Regions from separate parts of the Homo sapiens genome. Here all the other regions are linked to region 3. The links are contacts of gene promoters, found by promoter capture Hi-C in human tissues and cell types (Jung and others, 2019). All regions are on one chromosome and are shown on one strand. The core of a region is centred on a gene start or on the middle of the fragment in contact, and the rest is flanking DNA. Distances in the headings are between cores, read along the strand shown. Region 1 overlaps LCLAT1 (lysocardiolipin acyltransferase 1). Region 2 has its middle 56 kb from the start of LBH. Region 3 holds the start of LCLAT1 (lysocardiolipin acyltransferase 1).

Evidence for each region. The method cuts DNA at HindIII sites, captures the fragments that hold promoters and counts their contacts. A contact is called where the count stands out against the background at its distance.
Region 1: a contact is called between a fragment that was not itself captured here and the fragment with the promoter of LCLAT1 in region 3, in 1 of the 25 tissues and cell types used here (liver).
Region 2: a contact is called between a fragment that was not itself captured here and the fragment with the promoter of LCLAT1 in region 3, in 2 of the 25 tissues and cell types used here (H1 embryonic stem cells and stomach).

What each region holds. Positions count from the first base shown.
Region 1 is chr2:30,609,720-30,612,419 of GRCh38, reverse strand. All of the region lies in intron 5 of LCLAT1 (lysocardiolipin acyltransferase 1), which reads right to left. Among named protein-coding and RNA genes, the nearest start is that of LCLAT1, 160 kb to the right of the region's middle. The HindIII fragment of the contact is 4,699 bases long and covers 1-2,700 here.
Region 2 is chr2:30,286,442-30,289,141 of GRCh38, reverse strand. No RefSeq gene overlaps it. Among named protein-coding and RNA genes, the nearest start is that of LBH, 56 kb to the right of the region's middle. RefSeq lists enhancers at 1-88, 980-1,029. The HindIII fragment of the contact is 8,232 bases long and covers 1-2,700 here.
Region 3 is chr2:30,445,797-30,448,496 of GRCh38, reverse strand. LCLAT1 (lysocardiolipin acyltransferase 1) reads right to left here and starts at 1,251. Exons shown (of 6, transcript NM_001002257.3): 1 at 1,114-1,251. RefSeq lists enhancers at 87-823, 1,021-1,140, 1,351-1,410, 1,451-1,520, 824-1,561. The HindIII fragment of the contact is 9,254 bases long and covers 1-2,700 here.

The sequences.
Region 1 (2,700 bases), core at 3-2,502, 160 kb before region 3:
GACAGGAAGCTAGAGACCTCTTCAATGATGATAGGTGCCTTTTATAGGTTTAAGGAGCTTATGTTAGTTTGATATGCTCCTCTCTCCCTCTCCCTTCAAACCGTGATATAAATACTCTTTAGTTATGGCATATTTGACGATGTTAAACATACAGTGTTGTTTTTAAACTGAAATTCTTTCCTGACATTCTGGAATGCAATCCCCTGTGCTTGCTTCATTTTCTCTCTGATAACAACAGAAACTTCATTAAACATTCCCGAATATAGCCTCTTCATTAATTAAGGTATTACTGTAGAAGTACTTGTTTCCTAATCAACTCTCAAGACTGTGTCTTTAAATAGAACCACCAACCTCCTCACAGAAAGTCTTTTCCTCACAGAAAAGAAAGCTTCATTTTCTACTGTGCTATTTTTTTTCTTTCTATCCACAGGACACATGGGAGTCCCACCAGCTTGAAAAAAATTTCACAGAGCTGGCATTTCCATCAGTGCAGACACGGCTCTGAAAACAGTAATTGCTGCCTTATGGGCATGATACGCCCATTTCTACTCTGACCTCCTCCCAGGAGAAACTCTTCTGCAAATGACCACAGTACTTCACTTGAGTTCTGCGTCATCCTCCTCCTATTAGTTCAAGTGGTCTGCTAAGCGGTTCATGAACCACTTCCCTCAGCTGACCCAGATGAAGTAAGCTCTTCTTTGCTGCTATGCCCAGAGCCCAGACCAGTTAAGAATCTCAGCCTGACTTGGCCTGTTATCCCTCAGCTTCCAGTCCTGACTCCAAGGTACCTTCTTTCTGTAAGTCTTCAGCCTACTGACTCAGGGTCCTACCATACACACCACTGTCTTCTGAGAACAGCACACATGGGGCAGAGCAGAGTCAGGGGGAGAGAGAAAGAACAGTTAACAACTCTTAGAAACCTGAAAATAAAGAGGATACGGCTGGAAATGGGACCTCAGAAAGTTCCACATGCTAGAATGCCTTTCCTTTTGCTTTCATGGCACTCTCTTTCACCCTCAACTGAAAGTGTGAGTGTATACACACACACTCTCTGTTCTCTGGGATTTCCTAAAACTGGAGCTAAATTATAATTAGGACATTATATAGTTTATTTTCAAGAATTTTTGGTTGCAGCAAATTAGAATATATGCTTTGGTTTCATAGAATTAATTCATGTAGCTTTATCATGTTCACATAGAGCAATGCAAACTTTCTCATGCATATATAATGAAGCAGGAAAGACTATAAAAGGACCAAAAAGAAAAAAAATGGACAAAAAGGCCAGAAGAAAAATGCTAATGAGTCTGTTGACTACTGATAGGAAAAAAAAAAAAAAGCTAAAAGTAGAAGAGCAGTGGTGAAGCCAGAATTTAACAAATTAAGGGAGGAATATTGGGGGAAAGATGATCAAGGAAGAAGTGAAAAAAAAACAAAATTAAACTCAGTGTTTGGTATCTATTACATAGCCAGCATTAAAAAAACTGAAGAAAAGCACAAGGATGGTAACAGGTGAGGAAATAATAACAGTTAAGTCCAAGAAATTTTTTAAAAAGTTATATTCATGTCCGTGGAGACCCTTAATTCAGAATATATATCTATGATTTACTTGTTTTTAATAACACTGAACTTCTGGTAAAACAGAAAAGACATTAAATGTGTTGGACCAACCAGCTGGAATGAAAATTGATTCCCAAACCCAAGTAACACAAGAATGTACTAACTCTAAGCTCCAACATTATAATATAAAACAGAATCCATATTGTTTTTAATGACAGCCTGTTACAGCACTTGTGATACTCTTGAATTTAGCAGAGTGACATCAGACCTAGGCTTATATAACTATTCAAACAACAAGGTCTTAAATACCTGAGAGATCTGTTAATATAAAGATGATCTTAATATTCACAATCCTCTGGTGTTAAAAACAATTTCCACCAGACCTTGATACACAAGTGGATAAATCATGTTAAATTAAATCAGTCTGTACTTATGGAGCTATCTTAATCAGAAGGAGATTTAATGAAAAGCGTTAGCTTAGATGAATAATTATTATAGGCTAATATTTGTCCACAAAAAGAATTTGTTTCAGGATTAGACAGAGACCATGAGAAGCCAGAGGCATCAATTCAATAATGGAATGCCTAATTATAATGTATTGCTTTGCCCTGCATATAATTTATTTAGCACATTGCTTTTCACAGGGTTTATTAAGGAAACCTAAAAAAAAAAATGCAATTACTAAAGAAGGAACGAAAAAATTAGTAAACTAAAACCTTTTAAGAAATAGAGGAAGTAATATGTGACAAAGTCTAGTTATTAGAAAAATGCAGGGGGTATGGCTATGTTCAATTTGTACATGTAGAAACTGCATATTTGTCCTATATCCTTCAAAAATCGGTCATTGCCTTTATGTGCTTAAAATTATGTTAAGACATGCATTCATCACATCAAAAGTATCAATAAAGAGTTTAATAATTGCTCACTAAATCATGCTTATGATAATGATTTTAAGTCCTGTGCTAGCTACAGCTACCATGGGAGATTTAAAGACATGGAAGCAATCCTTGCCTTTTAGAAGTTTATAATCTAGTTGAAGTACAACATATAAATATGTGAAAAGTTAAGTAATAACACAGGAAACGAATACAAGTTAATAGAAAATTTTAAGAGAAGTGAGGTGAGTGTAGTAGAGAATGAACA
Region 2 (2,700 bases), core at 171-2,670, 160 kb after region 3:
TCAGGAGTAAATAAATTCTTCAACGTGTACATTTTTATATTTGTATGTGAATCATAATTTTATTCTTTTTCTGAAAAATAACTTTTAATACTATAGTGTCTCTTTCTAACCCTTTAGGAGACTTTTTTTTAGGCTACCATTTGAATTTTGTTAGACTTCATGCCTCTTCTATCCTCACCAATTACCTCTCTTACCCCCTCCCTAGTCCACCCAATTTATTGCTTCTCCTGGATTCCTCTGTTCTTTTACCCTAGACTTGTGCAAAATCAGGCTTGGACATATCCAGGCACTGCTGGAAACCAAATGTTTTGAGGTTGGTTATGTTGTAAATTTCAGCTTCAGCACTGAAGAAATAGAGCCTGGGCATGTTTTGGTATTTAGGATCATTTAAAAGCTGCCTGTTTGGAGACAGAGACCATAGTTAGCATTTTCCCAGCTTTGGAAGGCAGACTTAGGGCTCGCATTTTTTTCAGATGATTTGTAGGACATTAATTGTGCAAATAATTTAACCCTTTGCTTCAGATTTTTTTCCTTTTAAAACAGAGGAGAGTTTAATCCTGAGGAGGAGCTCTGTTGTCGTCAGTGAATGTTTTGGTTTTTTGTTTTCTAATGGCTTCAATTAAGAACTACAACACACCCTGAGTGTGACTTTGCCAATATATTTAGGCTGGCTTATTTCAGTGTGCATGCATGTGTGAAAGACACACAGAAAATAGAGGAAATGAGAGAACACTCTCAAAACTTGCTAAGTGTATAAACTGTGATATTATGTTCATAATTCCCTTTTTCTTCGGCTGTCAGGTTTGAGCCTCAAACATTTTTTATTCCAAGGGAAACAACAGCCCCTGCAAGTAACCCAAGTTCACGGCTTTCCTGGGCCCTTGGAAGCAGGGGAGGCACTCTTTTACTTGGAAGGGTTAATTGAAGACACTTAAGTTTACTCTTGGTCAAATTCACAACCAGGAGAGCTAGAGAGAGAGGAAGTGAATGAGTCTCACTTGTCAAACTTTCCTTTTTGGTTTTTTTTTTTTTTTTAAACTTAACTCTTTCTTTACCCTGGTGTGGACAAAGTGCACTTTAAACCTAAAGGTTTCATGGTTTCAACGTACACTTGATGAACGTTCTTGGATCTCCTGCTAGAAAACATGTTGGTGCATCAAAGAAAAGGGGAAATGATACCTAGCTTATGAAGGAACACTTTCTTCTGAAAATGGAGATGGAAGATGGGTCACAGATTGAGACTAAACATAGTCTCTATGGGCCTAGAGGAAATTTCTCTGGCTAGCTCAGTGAGAGCTGGGGAGGCCATTTCAACATTTTATGAATGAAATTCTTCATCAACACTGTTTCATTAGAGAGACGGACTTGACCCTGGACTAATATAATTGCAGCACTGGAGATATTAATGTAATTTTGAGGCCTCATGTCACATTATAAAAACACAGTGCTATAAAAGACTCTAATTTGCCAAGCTCTACCAGACACCAGATGGTACACTTACAGAGAGAAATTTTTTCCTTGAACAGAAGGTAGTCTGTGATGTCATAAGCAGGAGAAATCACCAATACTCAGGGTCTTGGACACTGACATTCTTTTGAGCTAGCAGAGAAAAAGGCCCACAGATACCCAAAGGGGCAGTGCTAGGTTATGTGGTCCTGACTTTTCTTCTTCCTGCCATCAGCCCCCTGGTAATGAAAGAGAGACTCACAAAAGGGGGATTAGAAACTCCTGGCAACCCTGTTAATGGCTTCCTGTGGGATCTCATTTCCTCTGAAACCCCCAGAAATGAGGAAACCTCAGCTTATTTCAGACTCACCCTTCTCCATTTTACTTTACCCACATCAAGCACCATTGATTCCAATCCTGATATTTCAGACCCCCACAGTGGCTGCAGCCTGAGCTCCTGCCTTCTTCACTACCTGGGCTGAATAAACAGTGAGCTCTGCCTTAGGTCTCTCTCTGTCCTTCCCATCTCTTCCCTCTATCTTCTTCATGCTGCCAGAGTGGTTTTCTTAAATGCAAATTCTATCATGTCTCTGTCTTGCTTAAAAATCATTGATGGCACCTCGCTGCCTGGACCAGTAATGGGAAAAATTGGCCCTAGATTAAAAGTTGCTTTGACCCAGGTAAAAAGCTTGAAGGCAAGTCTTGAAAAATCAAGTTGTTTCCAAGTAGCTTAATTGAGTCCCAGAATAAAACTCAAAAGCATTTAAAGAAGAAACCTAGCATTCAGCACTAATCTGGCATCCAATAAAAAATTATCAGGCGTCAAAGAACTAGGAAAACAATATAAAGAGGAGAAAAATCAATCAATAGAAATAGATACAGAAATGACACAGGTGAATAGACAAGAACAGTATTTTAAATGAGGTAAATATACTCCATATATTTATGGAGAAGACAGAGGAATGCATGAGCATATTAAAGAGATGGTGGTAGATATTTAAAGGAGAAGACCTAAATCAAACTTGTAGAGATTAAAACAAACAAACAAGAACCTCTAATGTCTGAGATGGAAAAACACACTAGATGGGAATAAGAATGAATTGGACACTGCAGACTGAAGAAAAACAGTAAACAGCATCAGTGAGCTGCAGAACAACTTCAAGCAAGATAATATAACATATAGCTTATATACAATAACATATAATAATTCTTTTTGCAGTCCCCACAAAAAGAATAGAGAGATAGAAGGAAGAA
Region 3 (2,700 bases), core at 2-2,501:
ATAAAATCAAGCCTACTACCAAAAACAAAAGTCAGTTAACATTATGCTTATCTGTCATATCAAGCATATCAAAGTACAATGTGCAACAGAAACCTAAACGAAAAAGTGATGATGTATTTTTACTTACTCTCAAAAAATATGTTTTACAAAAAGGGCTTTCATCAAGTCAGTTTTTTGAAAACTAACCCACGTAGTTATACTTCATGAGATGACGTTTCTTTGAACAAATAAGTTAATGATATGAATAAATATTTCATCTTGGTAATGCCTTCAACACATATCTTCAATACTTTTCTTGGACTTAAAGTGACTTCAATCCCTAATCTCATCTACTGCCATGTACACAAGAAACACAGTTAATGAACTTTAAAGGCAGATGCAGTATTTCCAGGGAAGCCACCTGAACCAGGGAAGTACAAGAAAGCAAAACATCTCCACAACCACATCTAAGTGCCTTATCTTTCAACTTCTTTTCTTCAAATGGGCAATTAGAAGCTACGATACACCTTAAAGATCAGGTTTGGCATCCGCCCTGGCTAGGGCCTACCTTTCTTTTCGCGGCACTGCCACTCTGGCACCTACAGGCAGGCCTTTGGCGCCTGCAGGACTCGCAGGGAAGACAACCCCAGCCCCTGCTCTCCACGGCTCTCGTCGAAGCCCCGCACGTGGTGACCACTTGAGACGTTTTAGTGCATGGGATTTAACAGGGTCAGACCTCAGGTTGCGTTCCGGGACAGTGCAGCTCCCAGACCCGCTGAGGTCGCAGGAGGAAGGTTTTGACGCTCCTAGCGTAAACACCGACGGGACCCTCTTCGCCCCGCGGCTACCTCGCCCTCGCCGCTCGCGCGGCCCCTCAGCACCTGACGCCTCAGCCAGCCTCCAGGAGTCGCTTCCCCGCGCCTCCTTCCACCTGAGCCAGCGACGCTACCGCCACCTGCACCGGGACCCCAAATGCCAGGCCAGTGGCCGTTACCCGAGGTCGCGGCCCGGGGAAGGTCCATGGCTCAGGAGGAAAAGCCCGGGCTGCAGCTCCCCTTCCTGCACCTCTGAGATCCCCCGGCCGCCGCCATTTTCCTCGCGCCGTAACCCCACCTGATAGTTCCAGCCTCCCACCTGTGACAAGCAGGGCACGCCGCGCGACGCCGAGTGGGGTGCGTGGGCAAGCTGGGGCTCCGTAGGGGTCACAACCTCCGTGCGGAACCCGCCGTTAATTCATCCCGTAACGCGGAGGCGTCCGGCCGTCGCCCTAGTAATGCGTCCCGGAAGGCTACGTCCTGATTGGCTGCAGGCGCCGTGACGCAACGGCGTCCCCGGCTGCGTGGGAAACCCGGGTCCCCGGCGCCCCGCGCTTGCTCCACAGCCCGGGATACCCCGGGTACCTTTCTTTGAGAGCTCCTTTAAAGAGGCCTCGCTTATTTCCTCGTCTGGCCTCCTGGAGAGGAGGGACCCACGGAACGGTGGGGTGTAGGGGTGAGAAAACAACGAAATAGGAAATTAGCGGAGGTCATTTGTCCGAGGGAACCTAATGGTTCATTCAACCCCTAGAGCTGCAAAATGGAAAACAGAAATCTGGGAGTTTAATTTACAAGCCTAAATTTGGTGCGCGAAGTCACAGGACAAATCAGTAGTAGAAGCAGTTATAGAACCCAGGTTCCCTGATCAGGAGCACAAAGTTTTTCTAGCACACTCAGTGTTTCCCCAGTCCTAGAAAATGTTTCCTCCCAGTTCCCATAGCAATTTCATCACACTGCTCTTAAAAGGTCTCGATCACCTATCATGGTGTGTCTGTCCTGTCCCCTAACCTACTAGATTGCATGCCCCTGAATGGTGGGGACTGTGGTTAAACCCCTTTTCATTTCCCTTAAGCAATTCCCTCCTCAACTTGGCCTTCAACAAATACAATAAGAATCTTAAAAATAATAAACATAGCTACACATCACACACAGCCACTCATCAGTAGTTCATGTATGTCTATACGTTTTATCCGTTTATTCAACAAAGCACAGAGTGAATATTTTTAAAATTACAAGGTTCCTGACCTCACAAAATTTATGGTGTAATAATAATGACCATCTACATGTTGGCTGCATAGCTTCAATATAGCTAAATTATATCCCCAAATTGCCTGTAAATCAAAGATTCTTGTGCTCTTTTCCTAAATTAGCTTCATAATTTCTCTAAGTTTGTTCCAAAACATTTTAATATTTAAGATGTGCTAAAATTGCATCAGAAAGTGAAGAATGACTACAGAGAGAAACACCAGAACAAAAGTCAATTCTGCCAATTATGCCTATGACTTTAGGCCTCCTTTTTACCTTTAAAATAAGATTACTGGAATAAAAGATCTCCCAATTCTTTTTTGTTGTTGTTAAGAGTTGGCCTGGCTATGCTCCAGAACCTTCAAGGGCTCTACTGTGGTTCTTTGGGGGCTTGCCGGAGGTTCCTCATAGCCTTTGCAGCTCCATTGCAGAGAGCTCTAGCATTGTGAGGTGTGTCCGGTGATACAGCCCAAGAGGCAAGGTTGCCCTTACCGCCCTAACCACAGAGGACAGTGCTGGGCTCTTTCTTTTTTCTTTTCTTTGCTTTTTTTTTTTTTTTTTTTTTTTTTGAGACAGGGTCTCGCTCTGTCACCTAGGCTGGAGTGCAGTGGCATGATTGTGGCCCACTACAACCCCTGCCTCCTGGACTCAAGCAATCCTC